Linked DNA regions of Homo sapiens: all the other regions are linked to region 1. The links are contacts of gene promoters, found by promoter capture Hi-C in blood cells and fetal thymus (Javierre and others, 2016). All regions are on one chromosome and are shown on one strand. The core of a region is centred on a gene start or on the middle of the fragment in contact, and the rest is flanking DNA. Distances in the headings are between cores, read along the strand shown. Region 1 holds the start of MBD1 (methyl-CpG binding domain protein 1). Region 2 overlaps DYM (dymeclin). Region 3 overlaps LINC02837 (long intergenic non-protein coding RNA 2837).

Region 1 (4,553 bases), core at 1,117-3,616:
TCCTAACCCAGGGTAACATGACTTTGGCTTTCCTCAACAATGCTGTCAACTATGCTTTATTGATCGTCATTTCATGAACCCACCAATGTAGCTGCTTTCTCATCTCTTACATAGCTTCAAGACTATAAATGCTTTCTGTACTTTCTGAAGCAGCTTTGTGCACATATTGGCAAATTTCCTTCTTTTTCTGGTTGTACCATAATTCTGATGCATAACATTGAACTTACAGCCAACAGCATTGTAACTCAGATAACCAGCAAAGTTTATCTGCCTTGTATTTTCTCCATAAAGCACGACATAGTCTTCTCACAGAACACTAAACAGCACCTCAGCACTATGCTTGGGGACCATTTTAAAAAGCAAAATCACCAAAAAGTACAAAAATTAGAAAAATGTGACACTAAACAGACCACGAAAAGGACACCTGTTTACAGTATTAAAGCTGAAAAGGGCTCCTTCAGCCTCAGCTAGAAATACATGCATTGAGTGACAGTTTTTCACTGCTCTGTACGTATTCTTGAATAATCACAAATGCACTGTGAGTAGTGACTTTTAAGTTACAAATAAATTTTATTAAGTAGGTGAAATTCAAACATAAAATCCGCTAATAAGGATTAACTGTATGTGCATAATTTAAACTTCATCCATAAATTTAACCACACCATTTGATTTTACCAGAATCAGGCTCTACCCCACTCCTGACTCTGCCCACTACCCACCCAGTACCTCTGGTAATAGGTGTCTGAGCGTCCACAGGTGGCCCCTGACTTGCGAAAGACTTCGCGGCGCTTCCAGCCAGGGCCCAGGGCCGGGCAGTCCAGCCAGTCCTCAGCCATGGAGGCCACAGGAAGCAGCAGTAGCCTGAAAGGGGGTGGAAGGGATGAGGGAAACTGAGGCTCTAGGAAGGGACAACACTGTGCCCCAGGCCACACAAATCACTGGTATCCATTAGTGCTTGCCCAAGCCCTAGGACCTGCCACAGGCAACCAGCCCATATATGGAAAAGAAACCCCTCATATTCTCACCCCATTCTTTCCTATTCTGGGCCTAGGATATCATCATTCCTCAACCCAAGGATCCCTGTTTCTTATTCTCAGTGTCCTAATCCCCTACTCCTCTCTATCCTCAGACTGACAACCCATCATTTCTCCTCACTGCCAATCCAGAAACTTTTCATCCTTCCCCCTCATTCCTCCCTGTCACTGACCTAAGGGCCTCTATCCCTCTATTTTATCACCCCAAGACCCCCATAGTCCCCATCCTCAGCCCCAAAGGGCCCCATTTCTCTTGCCCTCACTACTTGACTTCAGTAGTCTCTCATTCCCCCCTTCCTTGACCCAGGAGTTCCTAATTTCCCTCCTTCAGTGTTTTAACCACTCCATTCCTTCTCTGCCTGATGTCCTCTTATCCTGCTACCTCAGTGTTACAACCTCGACTTCCTCTGCGAGACACAACTGCTCCAACCCATAGCCTGAACAGCCCCTCATCTTTTCCATTCCTCACACTGGAAGCCTCCCATGCCTCCCCTTCCTCAGCCCAAGACCTCCCCCCTTATTTTTCTTCTCCTTCAATGTTCTCACCCACAATTTCTCCCTAGTCTGAGCTCCCAAACCTTCCTCTACAGCCAAAAAGTTCCCCACTTCTCCTCCTTACTGTTCTCATCCTCCATTCCTCCCTTATCATCCAGAGAGACCCTAATTTCTCCCCTCAGCATTCCGAACCCTCCTCCATTCTCTCTGTTCTTGTCCCGGGATCATGCCATCCCTAACTGTCACCATTCTGATCCCCTACTGCTCCTCGTCCTCTATATGGGGCCTCCTATTCCTCCCTTTCAGCATTCCAAAGCCTCTATTTCTCCTGTCATCAGCCTGAGGGCCCCTCATTTCTCCCTCTCAGAGTTCTGAACCCCCATTTCTCTCTCAACTTCAGATGCCCCGATGTCTCCCTTTAGCGTTCTGATCTCCACCATTCCTCTCCGTCCTCGTCCCAGGATCCCGACACTCCTACCTGTCAGAGTTCAGAGCTGCATTCCTTCCCGTCCTCAGCCTAAATCCCCCCATTTCTCCTCGTCAGTATTCCGACGCCGCCATTCCTCCCCCTTATCGGCCTGAGGGCCCTTCATTCCTCCCCGTCAGCGTTCTGAGCCACAATTCCTTCCCATCCTCCGCCTGAGCGCTCTCCACGTCCAGCCCCAAGGCTGTCTCACCAGTTTGGCACCAGGCCGGTATCTTCCGCCACTCTAGGCCCGTGGACCCATGGCGAGGGTCCCTCCTGCACCTCCCGCCTCGCCCTCCTCCCCTTCCTCCTCCTCCGCGGCCGCCTCCTCTGAAGCGGTAGCTGTCGCCTCCGCGGCTGTTCGTTGCTCCCGGAACCGGAAGTCCGCTGCCTGCCTCTCGGGCTCCGCCTCTGGCTAAGCACCTGCGCACTATTGCCTCGATGTCGCGTGCCCTTAATAGGGAGGCTCCCGCGCCTACGGGCCGGCGCTCCGCAGCGGTGCGCGCGCCCCCCTGCCGAGAGCCAGTTGCATCTGCGTGCTGACGTTCAACGACAGCTAACCCCTTCGAGGGACTGGCAGTTGCGGCTCTCCTCGCTGCCCATCTAGCTGGCGCATGCGCTTTCCAGCCTCAACCTGAAGGGAAGCGGTCGGGGAGGGCTTGCGCCTGCGCCCTCCCTTCCCTCCCGCGGTCTCCACAGCCGATACCGAACGCGGCAAGGAAGCTGCTTCGCGCCTGCGCACTCCCTGGCCCTGCCGGCGCTCTCCTCTCCCACCTCTCGCTGGGGTCTATCCTGTGTTCGTGGGTCCCTCCGAACATCAACCCCAGGGGGGGTCGTGTCCCGCTCCCTCCTCCCCGCCGAACAGCTGTGGGAGCGCGCGGGGCGGGGAAAGGGGCGGTGCCACACCGCAGGTAAACTGAGGCACGCGGGAGGGCGCGCCCCTGCAGGAGGCGGATCCCCAACGTGGGGCTTGTGGGGAAAAGGCGGGGCCTGGCGTCCACAGCGGACGACAGCTCTGGGTGGGAGACAGGAGCATGCATGGGCGGTGTCACCACACTGAAGGCGCGCTGCGTAGACCCTCTGCCCGTGGGAGGCTGGGAATGTGGGTCCCTGGGCTCTCGCGGGGTGCAGGCGCCCCCCATCTTATCCAGAAGTCTGGAACAGTTGCAACCGCAGCAATGTGGAGACAGCTTCCTTGGTTTCTTCAAAATTTTATTAACAAAACCCAGGGAGAGGAGGCAAGGATGAGTGGACTCCGCAGCCCCACCAGGCACTGAACATGTCGACGGGGACAGTCCCTCTGATAAAGGCAGATGGGCGGTCAACCGGTGGATGGGCACAGGGAGAACCGGAGAAACAGATGAGTGGAGGAACGGACACACGGGCACCGGGCGGCTCCCCCATCTGGAATGCAGGGTGTAAGGGGTCCGGGCCAGGAGGCTCAGCGGTCGGCACTGGAGCGCAGGTCGGTAGTGAGGGGATCGTGCTGGATCGTCTGGTGCAGCATCAGGGCCAGCAATCCCGCGCGGTTTGTCATGGCTGTGCGCACATTGCGCTCCTGCTCAAACAGCTCGTCCAGCTTGTACCACTGCCAAGGGAGCGGCAGGAGTCCTAAGCAGGAACACCTGCAGCCCCGCCTGCCCCGGCCACGTCCGACATGGAAACCTACCACATGCAGCACCAAAACCGCACAGAAACCTACCACACGCACGCGCTCCAAGTCCACTTCCGCACGCCGCAGCTTCTCCCAGCAGTAATGGCGATTGCACTGGCGCTTGGGCAGGCGGCAGAAGTCACCCGTGAGCTCAAAGACATCACGTACAAGGGGGCACCCGCATACCTCGTCAGCTGGCACCTGCAAGGAGGCCAGGTTGGGGGGATGAATAGCGGTGATAAGGGAGAATAGGAATGGGGGCTCAAGGAGGGAGAAGGAAAAGAATGGAGGGTTCAGGGAACGGTGAGGAGGCATGGAAAAGGAGGAATGGAGGGTGAAGCAGCAGGGAAGCTGAGAGGAAAAAGTGAAGGAAAAGTGAGGTGAGGAAGGAAGGGATGAATGTGGGACAGCGAGGCAGGGAGGAGGGGCAAAATGGGAGGAGCTGAGGGAAAACCTTACTTTGGGGTCCCGTGAGTGCTCGGGGCACAGCACCTGGAGCCGCTTACAGTATGTTTTGCTCTGAGGATTATACACATCACAGAAGAGTCGTGTGGCCCTGGGGATTTGGAGTAGAGAGGGCAGTAGAGGGAGGGAAGGGAGGTCCATCTGTCCTGGCTGGTTGCCCGTATCCTGCCCCAGCTCCACACACATCCCACTTCTGACCCCCGCCTTAACCCCCCACCTCTCACTGCGTGGCACCCTCACTTACCCTTCAATGCGTGTGGGGTACATGGACCCAAAGGACGTCTGGCTCTCATACTGGAGGGATGAGCACAAATGGAGGGAACTGTGGATGTGCGCTGCATGCCCTCCCAAGACACCACCCAGACAACAAATCTGTCCCCCACTGGCCCACTGATGTTCCCACATGGTCCGCCCCCTCAGTCTGACACCCCAACCTTGG
Region 2 (4,553 bases), core at 1,160-3,659, 830 kb before region 1:
TACAACATTCATAAGAACGGTAAGGGGAAGAGCGAACTCTAACTCTGTCCTTTCATTCCAAGGTTCTCGGCTTCCATTTTAGACCTTTCATGGAGGACTTAGCTGTCGTGTGGGGCTGGAAGAAGTCCTGGGGCAACTGAGGATTTCTGGCCGGCGCTACCCCCTGGTGTTATCCAAAGGCTTCTGGACCCCAGCCGCCAACCGCCCCAATGCGGTGTCGGCAACAGGATCTCCAACTTTCCTATTGTAATCTCCTCCTCTCCTGTTCGCAACCGTCATATCTCTTATCCTCTCTGTATGAAATGTGTGGGAAGTTTTATGGTTCAGGGAAGTAGTCTTGTTTGGTAAGATCAGGGAATGTCGTAGTAACAAGGCATATAGCTCAAGGGGAAGCGTCTTTGTGATTTTCTAAGAACAGGGCTCCCTGACCCCCCAACAGTGAGAATCTCTCTTTCTCTGCCCTTGGTCTGGAGAGCACATGGCATTTTCCAGGTCTCTCTCTGCCCTTGGTCTAGAGAGTATGTGGTGTTTCAAGGTCAACAGCGCCACCTAGTGAAATAGGAATCCTCTCCATGAAGCACACTGTCAGTCCAATGAAACATCCTAGCCTCCCAATTCTCTTTCCTTTTTGTGCCTCTCTACTAGAAACCAGGCTTTATGCTGGTTCTGTAAATGAGAAAACTCTGCCTTCAACAATTAGGGGTAAAATATTCCTCCAAAGCCAAAATTTAGTCTCAATACTGTCTCATCAGCAGGAAAATGGCCATTCAATCCCTAAGTTTTTTTAAGCCACCTATTCTGCCTTCAATTAGAGTAGTACTTAATTAGTAAGGGAATTTTAAGTTTGGAAGTTAACTGGAACCATTATCTAAGGGTAAATGCTTCAGCACAGGCCATAATAGCAGGATACAGAGTTCAATCTAGCACATCCCCTGCATTAAAGGGGCCTTGCCCAACTATTATGTAGTTTTTCTTGAAATCCATTTTTCAGGAAGCCAGGCAAGTCACACAAGTCTAGGAAGTTAAAGGGAAATCACAGGCAGAGGACTACAGCCACTTGGGTGAGCATGACTAGCCCCAGTGACTTAGTTCCTCTGGTTCCATGACTGGGGGTCACACTTGCAACCATGGGCAGCATGTTCAACAAGGTGCCTGGGACCCAGGAAACACAGGGGGAAAAAAGCAGGGGGGATGCCCCCACTGCTTCCTCTCCACCATGGGTCACACCAAAAGGAAGGAGACTAAAGGGCCACCTTTTTCTCTAAGTGGGTACCATCTTCATCCTGCACTCCCCTGGAGTGCATTCTGAAGCACAAGGATTTCTTTGACCCTGAAACTTTAAAAAGCAGCTCATTTTCTTTTGCACAGGGCATGGCCTTTTTACTAGACCTTTGCAAGCGTTACAGAATTAACCCAGCCCTTTTAGCAATCATATTGAGCAGGCCCAAAGAGAATAATTCCCCAAAATGAGAGAAGCAACTTCTGGGGAAATCATCTGAGGCAGCTATTGGGTGTCCCAGCCCTTCAAGTCCCCCTTATTTAGGGCCACCTCCAACCATACCACCAGTTCTTCCACCTCCACCATCTCCAAAATTTCCCACTCCCCACTTTCACTCTTACCTCTACAGGAAATGCCCAATGGAGGTGATGTCACTAGGGTTCAAGTTCCCTCCTCTTTGCAAGACCTTAGGCAAATAAAGGTGACTGAGGCCAATTTTCTGAAGACCCTGATAGGTATATAGAAGCTTTCCAAAATTTAACTCAGGTGTTTCACCTCTCATGAAGAGATTTTATGTTGCTTCTAAGCCAAACCCTAATTACAGCTGAAGAGCAGGCAGCAAAGAAATTGAAAGATAAGCAACGTTTCCTATAGTAGGCCTAAAACGAAAAGAGAAAATAGGGAAGGCAAAGAAATAAGAGAAACACAATTCCCAATAGGAAGAGAGGCGGTACCTCTTGACAACCCTAACTGGAATCCCCAGACTTTTCTATGGTGTTTTTCCTTCTTTCACAGTGTACAATGGTTCCTATCTCTTCCTGTATAATGTTCCTCCAAAGTAGGAAAAGTTAATTTCCCCAAACCTTAAAATGGTTGACTTAGAGTTGAGCTAATGGGAAGGGAACCCAGAAGCCTGACATGCTGGCAAAAGGGTAAAAGTTTTTTTACCAGTCAACATTTTGGCTTATCTCTTCCTGTGCAAACCAGTAACAAGGATAATAAGGATGATTGTTTATTCTCTGTAAAGTTTTAATTAATAAAAAAGAATTTGTGAGGTTGGTCTTAAGCTGTAACCAATCTGGTGTGCTTTGTGTGTCTTTCTGTAGCGTTCTGTCAAAAGAAAGGGTACCTTAGGTTAGGATGCAGGCCCAGGACCCCATAAGCCTGACTTTGTCTGGGTCCTAGACTCCACACCTGGTATATAATTAAAATCACTTACTAACCAGGTTTTTTACCTAAAGTAAAAGTTGCTGAGAGTTAACAGTGCAACATGTATTTGAGATCTCTAAAGTTTTATATGCAAGGCTTATAAAAACAGTGAAATGTGTTTTTTAGTAAAAGATTATAAGAAAGCATGAAAATATAAATTTTGCCCAGGGATAAGAGATTATCTTAAATTTAATAAGACAGAGCTAAAGGTTTAAGCAAGTTACAGGAAGACAAAAATTAATCTTGCAAAAATGTATAAACATTAACTAAATTCAAAAGGGTATTATATGGTCTTTTCCTAAATTGAGCATTGAAAGAAAAACACGGCAAGGCTGTCTTAAGACACTAATCTGCCGTTTAACAAAAGGGGTTGTAAAGGGTTTGTAAAGACTTCACCCCATGGTCATTGGTTAAGATTAGGTGAACTTTCCTATGAGGTTTTATCAAAAGGTTGTTTACAACTTTAATAAACTAATACAAGGGTAAAATTTGGCTTTAAACAGGATTTTCATGTAATAGTAAAGGATGATGAAAGATTTTTTCCTTTTGTGACATCATTTTGGCAAAATAAATAATGGCAATTTGGAATTCTATTTCATAACATCAAGTGTTTTAAACCTCTAACATTTAAAAGGCATCCCAAAATCAAGCTTCAAGTTTCAAAATTGTCCTTCCTGATGCCTGGCTTTCTGGATTGTTCAGAAGGCCCCTGAAACATCCAGAGAAGAGGTAAACAGGATTATCTGACATGTTTAGTCACATTAGAATTGCCAAAACGATGTCCAATCTTCTTTAAGTTATATTTTGGTGAATAATACTAATATATGTTCCAAAATTGTATGGGATTTCTAAAATTCTAATGTCTAAGTATATACTATCAATCATAATTAAGGTTAACTAAACTTTTTCCGTCATGTTTTTAACTGTAACCTGGAAATTTTGTCATGCACAGACAATTGTTGTTTTGCTTTGTTCCTTCTGAAAAGACAGTTTATAATCAAGCTATATTAAGGACTTTCAACAGGTGTCCTCAAATGCAGGTTTTTAACAGCTTTGAAGATTGTAACATTGGAAGAGAGAAAGAACGTACAGGACTCATGAACTGAAATGTTCACAAATATCAAGCAAAACAAGAATTGACTAAATGGACTACACTCAGAAAGCTAAAGCAATCTTTTTGACTTTTGCTTGGAATATTGCTGATCCTTGGTTTGTTTTTCAGAGTCAAGGAAACTTATTTTGAACTATTTACAGCCTTTAATAATTGAGTAAGGTATACTCCTGTGAACAAAACTTGAAGCATGATTGTTTCTCTCTGCCTGGTTCCTCTAATCTGTGAGAACTCTTAACTTATGGCAATATAGTTGTTTGCATCAGTGAAATAAGAATCCATTTTTCTTTTTCAACAGGACACAAATGGAAAAACTGGCTATTTTATCAAGGCTTTGACTGGAAGTGTATGCTTCCCTTTAAGGAGTCAACCTCCACTTGCAGAGCTGAAAAAGCCCCATGGGAAGAACTGGCCTCATACCTTGTCTACACAGTCCCCGCACAGGGTTCCTAACCTTTGGTCAGTAAAGAATGTCACTTTCTAACAGGTCCAGGAGCTCCAAGTTTATCTTGGGACCTTAAGAGAAAAGGATCACCCAACTCACAGGTATTTGAAGATACAAACCCATGCTGGGCTCAGCTTTAAGAAGTCTTATCTGAGATTTCTTGTGGAACAGAGTTCCATCGAAGCCAATCCAAAAGGACTATGCAGAAATAATTACTCTTGCTGAACTTTATGCAAATAACAAGGCCAAATATAAGACTAAGGTTTATTCTACAAACAACACGGTCCTATCATAATTTGTTTTTACCAAAATCAGGACTAGAGAGAGAAAATATGCTCCAAAGCTTATCATACATTTGTCATTAAATCCTAGTCACATTAATTGTTTTTAAGTTGTGTGCCTACATTTTAGACTAACACTGCTTATTCCTGTGAATCAAGTGGTGATCTCCTGAAGCTTACAAGAAACAAAAAGAGATGGGTAACACAAAAATCTGGATACCTTGGCAAATAAAATTTTAGATGGAAAGTATCTACTACACCACACTTGTGGGAATTGCTATACTCACT
Region 3 (4,553 bases), core at 1,146-3,645, 780 kb before region 1:
ATTTTTTGAGACAGAGTCTCGCTGTGTTGCCCAGGCTGGAGTGCAGTGGCGCCATCTCAGCTCACTGCAACCTCTGCCTCCTGGGTTCAAGCAATTCTCCTTCCTCAGTCTCCTGAGCAGCTGGGACTACAGGCACGTGCTACCACGCCCAGCTAAGTTTTGTATTTTTAGTAGAGACGAGGTTTCATCATATTGGCCAGGCTGGTCTCGAACTCCTGACCTTGTGATCCACCTGCCTCAGCCTCCCAAAGTGCTGGGATTACAGGCGTGAGCCACCACGCCTGGCTTATTCTGCATAATTTTTAAGAGTTGTGAATTGTTTTAAGATCAAATTTAAAAGTACATTTTCTTTCTTATCTTGTCATTAACTGATGTTGGGTATGTGTGTGTGCTTGTGATTTCCCTGGCTGGACCAGTGTATAACTTCAAAGAGGGCTGGTGCCTTGCCTTTAGTCTGCTGGATAGCACTCCTCCAGACCCTCCCTTTGCTGAGCAGCTCCGTGGACCTGTGCAAATCTCTACCCAGCTTTGTTGGACAACAAAATACCCTGGAGAATATCAAGCCCTTTAACATACCCAGTTTGTGCTCCCAGACGTAAGATCTCTTTGGCCATGTATGTGGGATTCCCATGAAGGAGAAGCTTCATTTCCAGCAAGAATCTGGCTTCCACCTAGACTTGGGAAACAGATACTGAAAAGCATATTGCTGATCAACTAGACAACCTACTTCCACTCTTGATTGCCCCTGTAATCCATCTAGAACAGCCAGAGCAATTTATTTATTAAAAAATTTAAAATTGGCCAGGTGCGGTGGCTCACGCTTGTATCCCCAGCACTTTGGGAGGCCGGGGTGGCAGATCACTTGAGGCCAGGAGTTAAGATCAGCCCGGCCAACATGGTGAAACCCTGTCTTTACTAAAAATAGAAAAAGTTGCCAGGCAAGATGCCTTACGCCTGTAATCCCAGCACTTTGGGAGGCCAAGGCAGGTGGATCACGAGGTCAGGAGATGGAGATTATCTTGGCTAACACGGTGAAACCCCATCTCTCTCTACTAAAAATACAAAAAATTAGCCGGGCATGGTGGCACACGCCTGTAGTCCCAGCTACTTGGGAGGCTGAGGCAGGAGCATGGCTTGAACCTGGGAGGCGGAGGTTGCAGTGAGCCGAGATCGCACCACTGCACTCCAGTCTGGGTGACAGAGCGAGTCTCTGTCTCAAAAAAAAAAAAGAAAAAGAAAAAAGAAAAGAAAAGAAAAAATTAGCCGGGCATGGTGGTGCGTGCCTGTAATCCCAGGTACTCGGGAGGCTGAGGCAGGAGAATCTCTTGAACCCGGGAGGCAGATGTTGCAGTGAGCCAAGATCGCACCATTGCACTCCAGCCTGGGTGACAGAGTGACTCCATCTCAATAAATAAATAAATAATAAGTAAAATTTTAAAATTATTCAAAAATTTAAGATTATTTATATGTGTTTTATAGAAAGTCAGATATAGCAGGTAAGCAGATTAAGAAAATAAAATCCTTATATTTCCAAAAGATTAAGCTTTAATATATCCTTCTAGTATAGTGTGAGATATATACTTCATGTGTGTATGTATATACATATATACTTACCAGGTGAAATTATACTGTACATGCTATTTCATAATCAGATTTTTTTCCAGTTAATCTCAATTTTACCATGTTGATACATTTTCATCTCTTCTAATACCTAACCTCAATTTCAGTTATCCCAGTTGTTCCCCAAATGTCCTTTCCAGTTGGTTTGTTCAAAGCAAGACCCGCCAGGCACACTGACTCACACCTGTAATCCCAGCACTTTGGGAAGCTGAGGCAGGCAGATCACTTGAGGCCAGGAGTTCGAAACCAGCTTGGCCAACATGGTGAATCCCTGTCTCTACTAAAAATAGAAAAAATTAGCAGGGTGTGGTGGCACACACCTGTAGTCCCAGCTACTCTGGAGGCTGAGGCATGTGAATTGCTTGAAGCTGGGAGACAGAGGTTGCAGTGAGTTGAGATCATGTCACTACACTCCAGCCTGGGTGACAGAGCAAGGCTCTGTCTCAAACAAACAAACAAACAAACAAACCAACCAACCAAAGCAGCCACACACACACAAAAAAACCAGAAACAAAGCAAGACCCAATCTAGGTCCCACATGACATCTGGTTGTTGTTTCTTTTTATTTTATTTTTGAGACAGAGGCTTGCTGTCACCCAAGCTAGAGTGTATTGGCGCGATCTCGGCTCACTGCAACCTCTGCCTCCGGGGTTCAAGTGATTCTCCTGCCTCAGCCTCCTGAGTAGCTGGGATTACAGTCGCCCACCATCACGCCTGGCTAATTTTTGTATTTTTAGTACAGACTGGGTTTCACTATGTTGGCCAGGTTGGTCTTGAACTCCTGACCTCAGGTGATCTGCCCGTCTCGGCTTTCCAAAGTGTTGGGATTACAGGCATGAGCCACCGTGCCTGGCCAGGTTGTTCTCTTTCATAATCAGTTTTAGAATCAGAAAATTTAACATTTACTATAATAATATTATCTAACCTAGAGACCATATTTAATTGCCGCCAATTTTCCCAACAATATCTTTTATAGAATTTTTTTTGGACGAAGAGCCAAATTCAGAATAAGGCATTGTGTTTGGTTGCCATGTCTCTTTATTTTTCTTTAATCTGAATAGCTTGGCATTCTTTGTAAAAAGAGCTTTCTCTTATTAACTGGGGTGATTTGGTTGTCCTAAAATACAGTTTCTAGAACTATGATAACTATAACCAGAAAATGTAATCTTTAAAAAATATAAACTATATAATATAACACTCCCCACTTCTCTCCAAAGCACTTCCCAGGTTAAAACCCTTGAAAGACTTCACATTTCACACCCAATAAAGTCCAAACTGCTTACTGTGCTGTGCAGGCTGATCTAGCTCCAGGCCCTCATTTCCTATACTTTTCCTCTGCACTGACTTTGCTCCAGCCACATTGGCTCCTTGCTGCTTCAGGGATACAGTCAACTCATTCCTGTCTTGATGCCTTTGCTTTTGCCCTTCCTTCCAATGATTTACAACTAGGTCTTCACGTGTTGGCTTCTTCCAGTCACTGAAGCCTTAACTCCTTCCCTGACACTCAGTCTATGGAGCTCCTCTCTGACATAATCTTGTTTTATTGTCTTCACAACATATCTCACTGAATGAAATTATCACATTTATTAGTTTTCTTCTTAAATTTCTATCTCCTTTTCAAAAAATGTAAGCTTCATGAAGACATGGTTCTTTTTTTTTTTTTTTTTTTTTTCTGAGACAGAGCCTTGCTCTGTCGCCCAGGCTGGAGTATAGTGGCGTGATCTTGGCCCACTGCAACCTCCGACTCCCGGGTTTCGATGATTCTCCTGCCTCAGGTTCCCCAGTAGCTGGGATTACCGGCGCATGCCACCACGGCTAATTTTTGTATTTTTAGTAGAGAGGGGGTTTCGCCATTTTGGCCAGGCTGGTCTCGAACTCCTGAGCTCAGGTGATCCGCCCACCTCGACCTTCCAAAGTGCTGGGATTACAGGCATGAGCAACTGTGCCTGGCAGAAGACATAGTTCTTGTCTGTTTTTTTTTCCTCTAGTGCCTAGAATAATTTTTTTGTTTATGATAAGTTCTCAACAAATATTTCTTGAATTACAACATAATACTGGAAGTCCTAGCCAGAGCAATTAGGCAAAAGAAAGAAAAAAGGACATTCAATTTGAAAAGAAGGAAGTAAAATAGTCCCTGTTTACAGATGACATGATTTTATATATAGAAAAATCAGGCCGGACGCAGTGGCTCATGCCTGTAATCCCAGCACTTTGGGTGGTAGAGGATGGTGGATCACTTGAGGTCAGGAGTTTGAGACTAGACTGGTCAACATCGCGAAACCCTGTCTCTACTAAAAATACAAAAAAATTAGCTGGGCGTGGTGGTGCATGCCTGTAATCCCAGTTACTCAGGAGGCTGAGGTAGGAAAATCACTTGAACCTGGGAGGTGGGGGTTGCAGAGAGCCGAGATCACACCACCACACTCCAGCCTGGGCAACAGAGCAAGACTCTGTCTCAAAAAACGAGAAAAATATAAAGACTCTACTCAATAAGTCTCAGAACTAATAAGTGAATTTAGTAAAGTTGCAGGATACAAAATCAGTATTCAAAAACAAGTAGCATTTCTAGACACAAACAAGAAAAGAAATCAAGATGGCACAATGGTGTACGTCTGTAATCCCAGCTACTCGGGAGGCTGAGGCAGGCAGATTGCTTGAGCCCAGTAGTTCAGACCAGCTTGGGCAACATAGCAAGACTCCCATCTCAAAAAAAAGAAAAAAAATTTAAAAGGTAATCCCATTTACCATAGTTACACCCCAACCCCCCCCAAAAAAGCCCCAAACCCTAAGAATATTTTTTTTTTTTTGAGATGGAGTTTTGCAATTGTTGCCCAGGCTGGAGTGCAATGGTGCAATCTCAGCTCACTGCAACCTCCGCCTCCTGGGTTCAAGTGATTCTCCTGCCTCAGTCTCCCAAGTAGCTGGGATTATAC

What was found. Contacts are between HindIII fragments. The CHiCAGO score rates a contact against its expected background, and 5 or more counts as called.
Region 2: a fragment that was not itself captured here is called in contact with the fragment with the promoter of MBD1 in region 1 in 1 of 17 cell types (activated CD4 T cells); the score reaches 6.5 in activated CD4 T cells.
Region 3: a fragment that was not itself captured here is called in contact with the fragment with the promoter of MBD1 in region 1 in 9 of 17 cell types (total CD4 T cells, naive CD8 T cells, non-activated CD4 T cells and 6 more); the score reaches 10.7 in total CD4 T cells.

The regions. Positions count from the first base shown.
Region 1 is chr18:50,279,157-50,283,709 of GRCh38, forward strand. It overlaps MBD1 (methyl-CpG binding domain protein 1), which reads right to left and starts at 2,367. Exons shown (of 17, transcript NM_015846.4): 1 at 2,207-2,367; 2 at 727-861. The coding sequence starts at 836. CXXC1 (CXXC finger protein 1) reads right to left here. Exons shown (of 15, transcript NM_014593.4): 11 at 4,549-4,553; 12 at 4,359-4,408; 13 at 4,109-4,205; 14 at 3,698-3,850; 15 at 3,191-3,583. The coding sequence ends at 3,437. RefSeq lists silencers at 2,100-2,179, 2,190-2,299 and enhancers at 2,445-3,025, 3,026-3,606. The HindIII fragment of the contact is 20,722 bases long and covers 1-4,553 here.
Region 2 is chr18:49,447,467-49,452,019 of GRCh38, forward strand. The region is part of intron 1 of DYM (dymeclin); the gene reads right to left. Among named protein-coding and RNA genes, the nearest start is that of DYM, 11 kb to the right of the region's middle. The HindIII fragment of the contact is 1,333 bases long and covers 1,744-3,076 here.
Region 3 is chr18:49,501,061-49,505,613 of GRCh38, forward strand. All of the region lies in intron 2 of LINC02837 (long intergenic non-protein coding RNA 2837), which reads left to right. Among named protein-coding and RNA genes, the nearest start is that of LINC02837, 4.0 kb to the left of the region's middle. The HindIII fragment of the contact is 1,708 bases long and covers 1,542-3,249 here.